2 separate regions of the Homo sapiens genome follow, and region 1 is linked to region 2. Evidence: promoter capture Hi-C in human tissues and cell types (Jung and others, 2019). All regions are on one chromosome and are shown on one strand. The core of a region is centred on a gene start or on the middle of the fragment in contact, and the rest is flanking DNA. Distances in the headings are between cores, read along the strand shown.

Evidence for each region. Contacts are between HindIII fragments. The study calls those that stand out against the background at their distance.
Region 1: a fragment that was not itself captured here is called in contact with the fragment with the promoter of WDR4 in region 2 in 2 of the 25 tissues and cell types used here (lymphoblastoid cells and spleen).

What each region holds. Positions count from the first base shown.
Region 1 is chr21:42,570,244-42,577,474 of GRCh38, reverse strand. It overlaps SLC37A1 (solute carrier family 37 member 1), which reads right to left. Exons shown (of 20, transcript NM_001320537.2): 18 at 2,560-2,657. LOC101928212 (a long non-coding RNA gene) reads left to right here and starts at 3,665. Exons shown (of 2, transcript NR_171773.1): 1 at 3,665-3,758; 2 at 3,876-4,391. RefSeq lists an enhancer at 5,010-5,753. The HindIII fragment of the contact is 5,386 bases long and covers 2,233-7,231 here.
Region 2 is chr21:42,876,142-42,883,781 of GRCh38, reverse strand. It overlaps WDR4 (WDR4 tRNA N7-guanosine methyltransferase non-catalytic subunit), which reads left to right and starts at 4,243. Exons shown (of 11, transcript NM_018669.6): 1 at 4,243-4,375; 2 at 7,015-7,080. The coding sequence starts at 4,287. It overlaps LOC105372817 (a long non-coding RNA gene), which reads right to left and starts at 4,070. Exons shown (of 4, transcript XR_937765.3): 1 at 4,027-4,070; 2 at 1-176. RefSeq lists enhancers at 3,991-4,340, 4,411-4,520, 4,551-4,600, 4,253-5,217, 5,218-6,181. The HindIII fragment of the contact is 11,595 bases long and covers 1-7,640 here.

The DNA.
Region 1 (7,231 bases), core at 3,676-6,175, 310 kb after region 2:
GCCCAAATTAGTCATTATTGCTGTTGTTTTAAACTGAGAGTCAGAAAGCTTTTTCTGTAAAGGTCTAGATAGTAAATATTTCAGGCTTTGCAGCCATATGGTTTCTGTTGCACATTCTTTTGTTGATTTTTTAAAGACATATTTAAAAATATAAACCATTCCCAGCTGGAGGATCACACAAAAATAGGCCACAGTTAGCTGGCCCCTATTTTATATGGTCAATACTCCTTTAGATTCATCCTTAGGAATATCACTTTTTTTTTGCTTGCATTTCTCCTTGCATCTCAGACTTTCCTTCTGGATCTATCTTCCTTCTCTAAATACATTGTTTAGCAATTTTTGCTGGGAGCATCTTTGGTTAAAAATGTTTTCACTTCACCCTTACTCTTGTGTGCAAGTTTATCTAGGTACAGAATTCTAAGTCATTTGATTCCTGAATCTAAGAATGTTTGTCTTTCATGTATCTGGAAAATTCTCAGCTATTTTGTCTTAAAATATTGCTTCAAATCCAGTCTATCATCTTCCTCTGGAATTACTTTCAGATAACTTTAGGCCATCTCATTTGGTCCTCCATTTTATATTTAATTTCTCTCTAATATTTTCCATCTCTCTTTTTGTGCTGAATTCTGGATAATTTCTTCATATCTATATTTCACTTCAGTAATCTTCTCTTCAGCGGTATCTAATTTGCTTTTCTAACCCATCCATTGAGTCTTTTTCCAGGCTAAAGATCACATTTTTCATTTCTATAACTCCTGTTTGGTTGTTTTTGAAGCCTGCTCTGTCTTTTCAATAGTGTCTTGTTCTTTTTTTCATGAGGTCAGTTCCTTTTTCTTATGTCATTAGTAACATTGCATATATTTATTTTTAGTTTACATAACTCTTTTATCTGCAGTTTTGGGGGAGTCCAATTCCACCATTTTTTATGTCTGTTACTGTCATTCAATGTGGATTGCTTCCTTATGTTTCATTATTTTGGATTGTGAGCTCATCTTTTGTAGGGTGTTAGCTACAGAAATCCTATGCTGCAGGGTTGAGATTTGTCCCTATTTGCTTCTGTATTACTGCCTAAGGACCAACTTTGCTCATTTAAAATATATTTATATAAGCTCAAAGATTAAAGCTGACTGTGGGGAGGTCTATGGCTAAAAATTTTCAAGGGAGATTTCTTCCCCCTAATCTGGCTAAGATGGGCAGATTCCCATTGTCTTCCTGTGCCAGTGTGCAGATATCATCTAGTATACTCTTTCACTGCAAGCATGGCTCTTCGAGGGTCCTGGCTCTATGACGAAGTCTCCAGTTCCAAATCTTCATCTTGTGCCAGCCTAACGCCTTGTCTCTTACCCAGTGTGGGCACAACCACCCCAACCCGTTGATTCCTGAGCTTGTGTATTTATATTGCCTTTACAATTCTGGCTCCTGGGGAGTTCCTTTACTTTCTTATGAGTTTGGCTAAGCATCAAAACAATTTTCAATATATATTACCAGATAGTTCTAAAGAAGATATTTCAGATTCTCTGAACAGTTGTAATGACAGGAATTTTACTGCTACTTAGTGGAAATCCATCTGGAGGCTTCATTAGAACATTCAGGCATTAAAAGAACCCACAGATGATCCAAAGAACAGCCATTTAAACCTAGTAAGTTCATAGGTTGAGAGTCGGTATTTGATTTTGTATGTGGTGGGGAAGTTGAGTTTTAGAATTTCCTGGAATTAAAATATAAGACTTTCATTTAATTGAGTGAGTTGATATTTCTGAAATTCTCAACTCATTTTTATTGGGATCAGCCTAAGGTTTTGTCTGGTGAAGTGAGAGGAGAGGCATGGCTGTGGGTCTGGGGACTTTGTGGCCAGGTGACTTGTAAAGATGTGTATGCACCCCTCACAGCTGCACATCTATGTGACTGTGACATCATCACTGGTCTTCCTTACCCAGGGGAAAACCTCAAACTTTCTCAACACAGGAGGGCACAGAAGCAGGAGCCCAGAGAAAAGGGGGCAGAAGCCAGAAGGCGACTCAGTGTCTGCACTGGCAACCTCTTTGCTCCTTTATTCTCTCCCATCCCTTCAGGTGAAAGAAGTTGGGGCCGCTCCCGCCGTCTGACAGCATGGCTGCAGGAGGGACACCAGGACACTGATGACCACTGGGAGGCCAGGCTCTGTGTATCATCTGCTTTAATTCCCACAACAATCTTGTCACTGGGTGCCATTATCATGCCCATTTTAAAGCTGTGGAAACTGTGGAGCAGAGGTTACGAAACCTGCCCAAGTCACACACATGACAGGTGACAGGCAGGATCTAGAGCCACGGAGCTCCACGCTCCTGGCCTTTGTGCTATCCCGCCCAAGGCTGCAGAGCAAGACTGTCCTGCTTCTGTTTCTGACTTTTTCTAATCAGAGAGAGAAGGAGCTTTAGACCACGCATATTTAGAAAAGATGGGAAGACCCAAACCTCTCTGATAACTCAGGAATGCATGGGAGAAAGTTCCACCAGTGTTTGGACACAACCACAGAGATCTGCATTCAAGGTGGATTGGACTAAAAATAGGCCGACTTACCAGTAAGGCACAGGCATCTGCAAACATCAGCATGTAAAACACATTGCTCCAGCCGGACGGGGAGAGGAGCCCAGCCAGCAGGGGGCCCAGGGCTGCTCCTGAAATCAGGCAAATGGACACACATGGTGCTGTTTAGAGAAAATCCCAGCACATAACTAGCAGCCACAGAGAATGGGGCTCAACACCTCACTCACAATGAAAGGAACACATATGGAACTACACTACCTCATCCTGGCCTATCAGATTGGGAGCGGGTACAAGGCCTAGTATAGGTTGAGCCTTCCAAATCTGAAAACCTGAAATCCAAAATCTCCAGAATTTGTAACTTTTTGAGTGCTGACACTCAAAGGAAATGCTCACTGGGGCATTTCAGAATTGGGATTTGAGATGCTCAACCAGTGTAATGCAAATATCCCACAATCTGAAAAAATAAAAAGACATAACCACTTCTGGTCCCAAGTACTTCAGATAAGGATACTCCACCTGTACGCCTCCGTACTGGGAAGGCAGAGCTGGCACAGCCTTTTCCCAGAACCATCCTAAAAATGTGTGTTGACATTGCAATGTTCATTCTTTTCATCCAACACTCCCATTATTTTCTTGAGTACACGTAAGGAAATCTGAATTCAATGCACAATCTTAGATATTCTTATGCTATAAAAATGTAACTGGGTAAAATTTGAATAAGAATTGTAGATACTAATATTCTTTCAATGCTCACTTTCTGATTCTGATCATGCACTGTGGTCTGTCATGGAACTCCTTGTTTTTAGGAAGTACATGCTGAATAGTTACGAGGAAAGGGGCAGCATGTGTGCATCTTACTCTTAAGTGGTTCAGAAAAATTATGCATGTGTGTGTGCATATATGTGTGTGTGCATGTGTGTGTGTAAAAACACGGGTGCATGATGAACCACATGTACTAAAATGTCTGAATTCTTTGTACTATTTCTGCAACTTTCTCAAAGTCTGAAATTATGTCAAGATGTGTTTTTAAATGATGAAAACAAATAACGTATCCCCCTAAATGCCCAAGGACTGCTGTTTAAGAATGTGTTTTGTAGCATCTGGTGCATTTTACCAAGAGGGACTGAAATGAATTCTGATACACATGTAGGATGGCCTGTTTTGGTAGATGCATGGGAAAAAGCATGAAGAATTTCCACCAACCTATGAACTGACATATTCAACTCTGAGAGGTAAGATAACCAGGGTCTTTCATGCCCTAGGCACTTGTTTTTTTCAAGTGTTCACAAAGTGCACTTACTATTTTATAATCCCAGGAGCAATTGTATGTTTTTTTTTTTAATTCTCAGAACTTCCAGGTAAACATGGTCGGCTACTCATGTGTTATCTCCACACCCCCAAGCAACATGAACTGCGCCATCACTGACTTCTAAAGATGATAAATCCTCCCACCGAAGGGCACGTAGTTTTGGAAGATGGACACAGAAGGGCTGACAGCTAACACAGCCTCCAGTGTTCCCTGCTCCACTGAGCATCCTCAGAGGGAGACAGCACAGGGACACCTGGAGCAGAGCGAGGCCCAGCGGAGCCCAAGAGACAGGGGAGGGGAAGGCAAGGAAGGAGGAACGCAGTGGGAACGGAAGGGGGTCAGCAAGAGAAAAAAGGTGCATGGGTTGAGTCTTTTATCACAAACTGTTAGCTACATTCCCTCTGCCGCACCTCGGATCCCAGGTCTCTTTTCTCATCCTCACTGATAAAGAGACTCCTCCTGATGCCCCCGTGCAGGACAGCGCAGCTTAACCCGTGGGGACACTAAGCCCAGTGCAGGACAGGGATGCTCACCTAACAGGCGACAGGGGATCTGGGGAAAGACACCAGCTTCCACCAAGCTTCCATGCCATGGCAAGGATGTTGGCAGCTGGACCCAGGCTCCCCTGGGCACTGAAGGAGTCTCCTCCTGCAGGTTCCGCAGGGTCCCACTGCCTGGAGACCAGCAGCCAGCACACTGTCCCCACAGAGAGACTTCAAACCACTATGCAGGGCCCCTTCTTCCATGGGAAGTGATGAAGGGGCAACCTAGGTCTGCCCTGTGTCTGGGGAACACCCCAACGTGAAAGCAAGCAAGCTGGCAGGAGGGAGCCTGGAGGAGAAGAACATTCCCAGAGCTCACAGCACCCACAGAGAGCCAACAGAAGACTAAGTTGAACCTCCCCCCAGAGAGCCAACAGAAGACTAAGCTGAACCTCAGGACACACTCTTTTTTTTTTTTTTGTGTGTGTGTGGCTGAAAACCTGTTATCAATTTCACATGATTCAGTCTAACATGAAATAAAACAGGATGCACTGAAAGGGCAGAGAAACATCAGTAAACATTGAAAATATGGCAGGAAAAGTAAAATGGTCGATACAAAGTTGGAAAATACAGTCAAGAATCTCCCTGAGAAAGTGTAAGAAAGAACAGGGAGACAGGCAGGAAGGGAAAGAAAGAAAGGAAAGTTGAAGGATTAATCCAGAAAAGCCTACATCTGACTAATACATTTTCCAGAAAGAAAAAACAAATCAGAAAATGGTAGGAAAACTTATCAAACGAACAGGGGCCCAATTCCCCTAAAGTGAAGGGCAGGTGTTTCCAGACTGAAGGTGCCACCAGGTGCCCCAGGACGGTGGATGAAGAAAGGCTCCCGGGGTAAGGAAGGGAACCTGGAGATCTAAGAGAAAAAAGAGAAGGTCAGAAAGCAAGGGCTGGGGTCAGAATGTCTGTGAACGTGTCAGTGACAGCAATGGAGGCTGGAAGACGGGGGTTCTGAAGAGAAGGTGTTTCCACGTCCACATTGCCTCAGGCGAGAGCAGAATCCAGCCATCACGCACTTGTAAGCTTGCAGAACCCACCTCCCCTAACTCAGGAAGCTGCTAGGAGCCAGTTTCCACCACAGGAGTGGTAAACAGGGGTCTAGACTGCTAGGGCTGTGTCGCAGGCAAGAGAGGAGGGGGACTCCCAGCACCGTGGTGACAGGTGCTCTGGGGCCAAGCCGCGCAGTGGGCGGAGTGAGGCTGATGGCGTGAAAGGGGTGGGGCAGGGCAGGATGGCGACCACGGTGCAGGGAAGGAAGAACTTTGTCGGAAATGTGAAAAAGAGGAAAAGAGATGTTTACTTACCCGGGAAAAAACAAGATGTATCTATTGAGGGTGCATAATTAAAGTTTGTTTCTTGGCTGGAAAGTGAAGGGCAGAAGCATGGCTGGTATAACTGAGGAGGAGGAGGGGTGGGCAATGTCGGGGTGGAAGGGAGCCAGGTCCCCTCTTCCGTAAGAGGAGCACAGCTGATGACGTTCAGATGATGAACCAAGAAACATGGAAATACGTAGGTAAGCAGAGAGAGGCAGCTGAAATTGGCTGCCTCTAGAAAGAGAGGGCTGGGGAGGGGGACGGAACGCCGCTGTACAACATAATAAGCTTGTAGGACTGTCTAGCTTCTAAGGTACATTATGTTTTACTTTAATAAATAAAAATTAACTTGAAGAAAAATGCAGTGCCCTATTTAATTGCTCTGCATGAAATGTACAGAAACGGCAACCTCTGCGATTCTAAGCACTGTGAACGCCCCAGGCGCACACCGTGTCAACAAACCGTGTGGCACTTGGGAGAAGGCAGGGGTGATTTACGATTAGTCATGTTTCGCCTCCACCCGAGTCACTGCCAAGGAGTGGACAGTGACACTGAATAAGCATGCGGGCACCTCCTTCGGGAAGGGACTTGGCTGACATGGTGGCCTTCCCACTGGAGCCTGTACTTTGTCTTGCTGGGCAGCACTCACTCATGGAAGGAACAATGACCAAGGCGTGGTGGTGGGGGTGGGTAGGCCTGAGCGCCGTTTCCATGGTGACCATTCACTGAGCAGGCAGCAGGCACTGATGGGCAGTGGAGCCTGGAGGAGTCAGGTCCTGGTCCTGCCTCTGGTGTAACGCAGCAGCCATCAAGGTGGGCGCGGCAGCTCCGCGGACAGTCAGGACTTGGTGCAGGTTAACAGAAGGCCAGAGGGGGTCCGGTGTGTGTGCCACCTTCCTTGTGAGGGGCCAAAGGCATTCAGAACTGTGCCTCCCTCCACCTGCTTGGGGGCAGTGGTGGGCAGTGGCCTCTGTTCACAGACGCAGGGTCTCCACCCTTAGCCACAGACTTCTGCTTCCCTCTCATTTTGAGAATATGAAGAAAAATGTGTTTTTTCACCTAGTTCATGATTTCCTTCTCTTTTTTTATGCTGATCCTCTGCTTTTAAAACAGCAATCGGGGTTGCCAGTAGAGCGCCAAGTTAGCTTTAAGAACAGGGTTTCACAGCAGAGTCAGACCGAATTGCAGACTGCAGTCCACTGAGGCACAAGGCCAAGAGAAGGCCACGCAGTCACAACGTCAACCAGAACTGAGCTCAGCCCCGCAGTCCCCCGACTTCCTACTGAGATGCCCAAGACAGAAGATCAGAGGGGTGACTACTGCCGCCACCCAATACACTCAAAGCCCCTCTGGATCCAGTGAAAGGAAGGAACCAACATGAAGGGCAGAGACGAGGCTGGTCTGGTCTCACTTTGGTGAACAGCAAAAGCCAAAGTGTGGCTTTCTGAGCAACAGCCACCCTGCCCACCACTTCTCAGAACCAGGCCGTGTGTCGCATGACAACGGCCACCCTGCCTGCCGCTTCTCAGAACCAGGCCGTG
Region 2 (7,640 bases), core at 2,994-5,493:
GAAGTCTGAAGTCAGGGTGTTGGCTGGGCCACGCTCCTTCTGAAAGGTCTAGGGGAGAATTCTTCCTCATCTTTCTCTTGGCTTCTGGTGTTGCCAGCAATCCTTGAATTATGGCCACATAACTTCAATCTCTGTTTCTGTCTTCATCTGGCATTCTCCTCTGTCTTCTCCCTTCTCTTCTCAGTACACATAACATTCGATTTAGGGTCCACCCAAATCCAGGATGCTCTCATTTTGCAATCCTTAACTTAATCACATTAGAAAAGACCCTTTCCCCAAAAAAGGTCACATCCCCAGTTTCCAGGGGTGGACATACATTTTAGGGGGCCACCTTTCAACCCACTACAACCACCATGAAATTAATGGGTCTTTGTCCATTTTTGTTTTTACACAATTTTTTTTTTAACTGAAGGACCATAAGACAATGCTTATGTCGTCTTGCCAGTTTGTAAAAAAAAAAAAAAAAAGGGTAACTTCTTGCCCATTTTTCTTTTTTTTTTTTTTTTTGAGACAGAGTCTCACTCTGTTACTCGGGTTGGAGTGCAGTGGCGCAATCTCGGCTCACTGCAATCTCCACCTCCTCGGTTCAAGTGATTCTCGTACCTCAGCCTCCTGAGTATCTGGGACTACAGGCACGCACCACCACTCCCAGCTGATTTTTCTATTTTTTTTTTTTTTTTTTTGAGACGGAGTCTTGCTCCGTCACCCAGGCTGGAGTGCAGTGGCATGATCTCGGCTTATTGCAACCTCCACCTCCCACGTTCAAGCGGTTGTCCTGCCTCAGCCTCCCAAGTAGCTGGGACTACAGGCGTCCGCCACCATGCCCGGCTAATTTTTGTATTTTTAGTACAGACGGGGTTTCACTATGTTGGCCAGGCTGGTCTCAAACTCCTGACCTCAGATGATCCACCTGCCTTGGCCTCTCAAAGTGCTGGGATTACAGGCGTTAGCCACTGCGCCCAGCCTGATTTTTGTATTTTTAGTAGAGATGGGGTTTCCCCATGTTGGCCAGGCTGGTCTCAAACTTCTGACCTCAATTGATTCTCCTACCTTGGCCTCCCAAAGTGCTGGGATTACAGGTGTGAGTCACCGTGCCTGGCCTTTTTGCCCATTTTTCTATTGTGCTAATGGAAGGATTCTCAGGTTCCTAATACCTTTTGCTCAGGACAGGACTAGAAATACAACACAACAATCCATAAGTTTTTTTTTTCTTTTTTCTGAGATGGAGTTTCACCCTTGTTGCCCAGGCTGGAATGCAATGGGTGATCTTGGCTCACTGTAACCTCCACCTCCTGGGTTCTAGTGATTCTCCTGCCTCAGCCTTCTGAGTAGCTGGGATTACAGGTGCATGCCACCAAGCCCAGCTAATTTTTGTATTTTTAGTAGAGATGGGGTTTCACCGTGTTGGCCAGGCTGGTCTCAAACTCCTGACCTCAGGTGATCTGCTCGCCTTGGCCTCCTAAAGTGTTGGGATTACAGGTGTGAGCCACTGCACCCGGCCAATCCATAAGTTTCTTAATTGAAAAAGAAAGCCCACACTCACTCTAGGCTAATGTAATCAATGATTTATAAAAATGGCCATAGTTGGGCCGGGTGCAGTGGCTCACGCCTGTAATCCCAACACTTTGGGAGGCCGAGGCGGGCAGATCACCTGAGGTCAGGAGTTTGAGACCAGCCTGACTAACATGGATCATGGATCACGCCTGTAATCCCAGCACTTTGGGAGGCCAAGGTAGGAGAATCAATTGAGGTCAGGAGTTTGAGACCAGCCTGGCCAACATGGTGAAACCCCGTCTCTACTAAAAATACAAAATTAGCTGGGCACGGTGGCACATGCCTGTAATTCCAGCTACTTGGGAGGCTGATGCAGAATCGCTTGAACCCGGGAGGCAGAGGTTTTGGTGAGCGGAGATCACGCCATTGCACTCCAGCCTGGGCAACAAGAGTGAAACTCCGCCTCAAAAAAAAAGAAAAAAAGAAAGCCATAGTTTTTATGAGCTTGTTGATCTATATCTAGGACTACAAGGAAGATATGCATGCTACAGACATTTGTACCTAGCAGTAGGTGCTACTGTAACATGTGGCATTAGCTTTGGACTAGAAGTCTGGAAAAGCAGTGGGGAAACTGGTAGTGAACACTGGAACAATGGTGAGGAAAACTACGGGAGGTGGACAAATGGTGAACAACTCTATGTCACGGTGAAGGATTTGTAAAATTGTTGCCCTTCAGTAAGATGGGCAGAGAAAAAGGCAACTACTGAACTCTGGGACTTGAAAAAGATCATATCAGTATAATGTTGAGATTAACCTGTGTTTCTTTTGCTTGAATATGTTGAGACACTTATAGAAAAGAGTGTGGTTAAAAACAAACAAACAAACAAACTGGCCAGCAGAATTTAGAGCACACTTTGGGTTGAAGCTGGGGAAAGTATTATTAGACCCAATAGTTGGTAACAAGTTCTCAAAGTAAGTCATAACCTGGGCCAAAGATCAAATTCAGAGTGGCGCTAATAAAATATGGCCTTAAGAATAATGCTGAAGTCAAGGTGATCTCAATGATTTAAATGTTAACAAGTGGCTGGGCGCGGTGGCTCACGCCTGTAATCCCAGCACTTTGGGAGGCCGAGGCAGGCGGATCACAAGGTCAGGAGATCCAGAACATCCTGGCTAACATGGTGAAACCCCGTCTCCACTGAAAAATACAAAAAATTAGCCAGGCGTGGTGGCGGGCGCCTGTAGTCCCAGCTACTCAGGAGGCTGAGGCAGGAGAATGGCGTGAACTCGGGAGGTGGAGGTTGCACTTCAGCCTGGGCGACAGAGCGAGACTCCGTCTAAAAAAAAAAAAAAGACTAGTGGGAGTGGCTTCTTGGGCATGGAGAGCACCTGAATCAGATTCTTGAGAAGCCCATAAAGCTTTTAAGGGACTTGTAGTGAACAAAGCACCACCAGCTGCCAAAATGTGGACAGAACAGTTTAGAGTGAAAAAAGGTCTGTGGGCTCACAATTTGCTAATGACAGGAAGGAGGTTGAGAAAGTTTCTCAAAGGGCACATTCTTCAACATGGCCAAGAAGGTGCTGGAAAAGGAGGGACACCCAAGAGGGCAGAGGCAAGAGCTGTGCTGAGATACAGCCTGGGGAGATACTCCCAGGAAGCAGAACTCGGGCCTGGTTAAGACTTCTTATTCTTGTAGGGCCTGAAAACATCTTCCAGTAGGATTTCAGAATTGCTTTGGACCAGTGATTACTGTGTCTCCTCCTCTTCTCATTTTCACATGCAAGTATTTATTGTGGTTATCTGGTCCCGGCTCACCATCATATATTGCGTGCACGGGAGAGAAAATTAATCTTTTTAGTTTGTAAGTCTCTGGATCAAGAGGAGCTGCACCGGACAAGCCAATCTAAAACAGACCGTGAGATCCTAGATTTTGTGCCTGATGCTGGGATTGTAAGAGGCTTTTGGGGATCTTGGGATGAACACTGGAAACTAACCATAGTTTGGGTTGAAAATATCACTACAGTTCGGAGATTTTAAGGCATCTGTGGCTTGTCTAAGTGCAAAGATTCAGTAGGCTTACTTCTAGCGACCTCAGACTTGACGCCACCCGAGACACCCTCACCCATGACCACATCTTGGACATTTTTTTTTTTTTTGAGAGAGAGTCTCGCTCTGTCGCCCTGGCTGGAGTGCAGCGGGGGCGATCTCGACTCACTGCAACCTCCGCCTCCCGGGTTCAGGCAATTCTTCTGTCTCAGCCTCCCAAGTAGTTGGGGCTACAGTCGCACGCCACCACGCCCAACAAATTTTTGTACTTTTAGTAGAAACGGGGTTTCACCATATTGGTCAGGCTGCTCTCGAACTGCTGACTTCATGTGAGCCACGGCCCCCGGTTCATTCACTTCTTGAAGGATCATTTACCAGGCATCTAGTAGCCATCATCAGGTCCTACGTCTCTCCAGCTACCGCGGAAAAAGATCCAGAACCAGCCCTACCCCGTCTAGAGGAAAGGATGAACATTAGGCAAGTACTTGGAATCGTGCGAAGTGCACTCCATCAGATCACCTTGGTGAGTGAACTGCCAAACCCGAAACACCGAAGGCCACCAGCCACAACCCGGAGGGCGGTCACAGCACCTTTCACGCATGCTCAAGGCAGGCTCGTCCTTGAGCATGCGCGGTACGTGGGGTATACGTCATCTCTCGGCGTCTGCGCCTGGCGTCACCGACCGGTGCGGACAGGAAGAGGCTCTGGGCTGGCACATGTGTATGGCGGTGAGGCGGGCGGGTACATGGCGGGCTCTGTGGGACTGGCGTTGTGCGGGCAGACGTTGGTGGTGCGGGGCGGCAGCCGATTCCTGGCCACCTCCATAGCAAGCAGGTGAGGGGGCCTTGGTCTTGGAACAGGGAGACCAGGCTGCGGGCGCGCGTCGGGTCCTGGCGACCCCGCTTCTCCCGCACCGCCTGGTCGCACCCACTCTGGGGTGACCCCGGGGAACTCCGCTCCAGCCCACGAGTCCTCCGCCGCAGTCTCGGCCTGGCCGCGTCTCTGCGCCTGGAGGGTCCGCTTTCGCCGTCCGCTCTCGGCGTCCGCTCCCCGGCTCCGGCGCGCTCCTTGCACTAGATGGCTGGTCTGCGGTGTTCTTGCCCGGTTAGCGCCGCCGGGTCGCTTCCGGTCTCCGCGGCGCCGGCGGGGACCGGGTAGGTAGAGCACGTGGGGCGACGCTGACCAGTCAGCAAGGCCCGGCCGAACACGCTCTGCAGAACTGGGAAGAAGCGGGTCTCGGGTCTCCCTGGTGAGAAGGGAGGGGCTTACTCACTGCGAGCTCACTGACCTCCAAGCGCGCTCCCTCTTTTTGCAGGGTTGTCTGTTCCCTCTTCCCGGCCTGCATCCACTCACCTGGCCTTAATTGCTCCTTAGGGCTCCAAGTCATCTCCGACACTTACCCAACCCAAGGGTGCACGTGGAGCTCGCAGTGCGCACCTCCCTAGTGGCCCTTCGCACGGCTCGGGTTTTGCTTTCCGTAATTTTATTCTCCTTCCTTAGTGTATCGCCAGTGCTAGGACGACGCAGGGGATTTTTAACTTAGTAAATGTTTGTTGATGGAACAGTCCTAACTCAGGACTCTCGGAGCAATTAGTAGTGCTGTCAGTTTCAGCCCCTCGTTTCCTTTCCCAGGTTATTTGTGATTTCATATTTGAAACGGACGACGTGTCTGTCAGATATACTGTATATTTTTTGTTCGTTTGGTTTTAGAAAGCCAATTCGATGTTAAGTTAGGTCTCACAAAAATTGTACTCAGAAACCCGTCACATATCCCAGATGATTTTGTTTTAGAGACTCACGGTCTAATATCTGCCAGAGTGAGCTGTGGATATATTAGACATGATTTGCTTACCTTCAGTCTTTGCATTTTGAGGAAATTCTAGTGGCTGGTGGAGTTTCTGACTTGGAAGACAAGTCCACGGTTCCATATGGAAAGTTTTTTGGTGCACTCGCTTTAAAGGCTATAAATATGTACAAGATACGTGCCAGGGGGTGAGGATGGGATAAACCGAAGTTTAGGTTCAGTATGGAAAATGGGTGATTCTTATGTTGGTAAGTGCCTGGGGTCATGGGAACACTTTCAGGTAGGTGAGATATGTTTCTAAATAGTAATGGCTCTTTGAAATTTGTATACAGAATCCCACTGAACGCTCAACAGTATCAGAACATAATTTCTTTTTTTTCTTTTTTTTTTTTTTTGAGGAGTCTCGCTTTGTCGCCCAGGCTGGAGTGCAGTGGCGCGATCTTGGCTCACTGCAAGCTCCGCCTCCCGGGTTCACGCCATTCTCCTGCCTCAGCCTCCCGAGTAGTTGGGACTGCAGGCGCCTGCCACCATGCCTGGCTAATTTTTTATATTTTTAGTGGAGATGGGGGTTTCACTGTGTTAGCCAGGCTGGTCTCGATCTCCTGACCTCGTGATCCGCCCATCTCGGCCTCCCAAAGTGCTGGGATTACAGGCGTGAACCACCGCGCCCGGCCCGTAATTTCTTATAACCATGTCGCATAGATTTTGTGGTGCCTAAAAGAATAGCATATTAATTCCTGTTGAGTATTTATCCCTCATTTGTTTTACTGAACTTTTTTTTCCCACAGAACTATGCAGTATGACGTACTCCAATAAGAGATTAAGCAAATAAAGTTTGTTAACTGTTCCCTGAAATATTGTATCTAGACAGTTTTCTTGTCAAGTATACAACTTTTAATTTAATGAGTGTGCAAATATTTTTTGTTCCACAGAGAAAAAAAATCAACTTTTTTTTTTTTTTTTTAACAAAGTGCTCTTTTAAAAATCATTGTTAGGCTGGGCGCAGTGGCTCTGCCTATAATCTCAGCACTTTGGGAGGCTGAGGCGGGCAGATCATCTGAGGTCAGGAGCTTGAGACCAGCCTGGCCAACATGGCGAAACCCCGTCTCTACCAAAACTACAAAAATTAGCCAGGCGTGGTGGCAGATACCTGTAATTCCAGCTACCGGGAAGGCTGAGGCGGGAGAATTGCTTGAATCCAGGAGGGGGAGGTTGCAGTGACCTGAGATCATGCCCTTGCACTCCAGCCTGAGTGATAGAGCGAGACTCCAACTCAAAAAAAAAAAAAAAAAAAAAAATTAGGGCCAGGCGCAGTGGCTCACATGGGCCAGGCGCAGTGGCTCACACCTGTGAGCACTTTGGGAGGCTGAGGTTGGTGGATCACCTGAGGTTGGGGATTTGAGATCACCCTGATCAACATGGAGAAACCCCGTTTCTACAAAAAGTAAAAATTAGCTGGGAGTGCTGGTGCATGCCTGTAATCTCAGCTACTGGGGAGGCTGAGGCAGGAGAATCGTTTGAACCTGGGAGGCGGAGGTTGCGGTGAGCCAAGATCGTGCCATTGTACTGGAGCCTGGACAACGAGAGCGAAACTCCGTCTCAAAAAAAAAAAATTTGTTATTTCTCTCTAATGATAACTCCTTTTAAAATTATTGTTATTTCTCTTTAGTGATGATGACAGCCTCTTCATCTATGACTGCAGTGCTGCAGAAAAGAAGTCACAAGAAAATAAAGGGTGAGATGTGGGGAAGCTTTTTCAGGGCCTGCTTTAATGGTTCGATAATGGGACCAGAGGGTCTAAGAAGCAATTGTTGTCCTACTTGCTGAATTCTTAGCTTCTGTCACACAGTGGTGCAGATAAGTAGCACCTCAGGAGAGACATGTAAAAGTAACTTTTAGGTTAGGCATTAAGAGTACATTGTTGGCTGAGCACGGTGGCTTATGCCTGTAATCCCAGCACTTTGGGAGGCCAAGGTGGGTGGATCACCTGAGGTCAGAATTTCCAGACCATCCTGGCCAACATGGCGAAACCCTGTCTCTACTAAAAATAAAAAAGTTAGCTGGGCGTGGTGGCAGGCACCTGTAATCCCGTCTACTTGGGAGGCTGAGGCACAAGAATCACTTGAACCTGGGAGGCGGAGGTTGCAGAGAGCTGAGATTGCGGCATTGCACTCCAGCCTGGGGAATAGAGCAAGACTCTGTCTCCCAAAAAAAAAAAGAGTACAGTGTTAGTGCCGGGTGCGGTGGCTCATGCCTATAATCTCAGCACTTTGGGAAGCCAGGGTGCTGACTGAG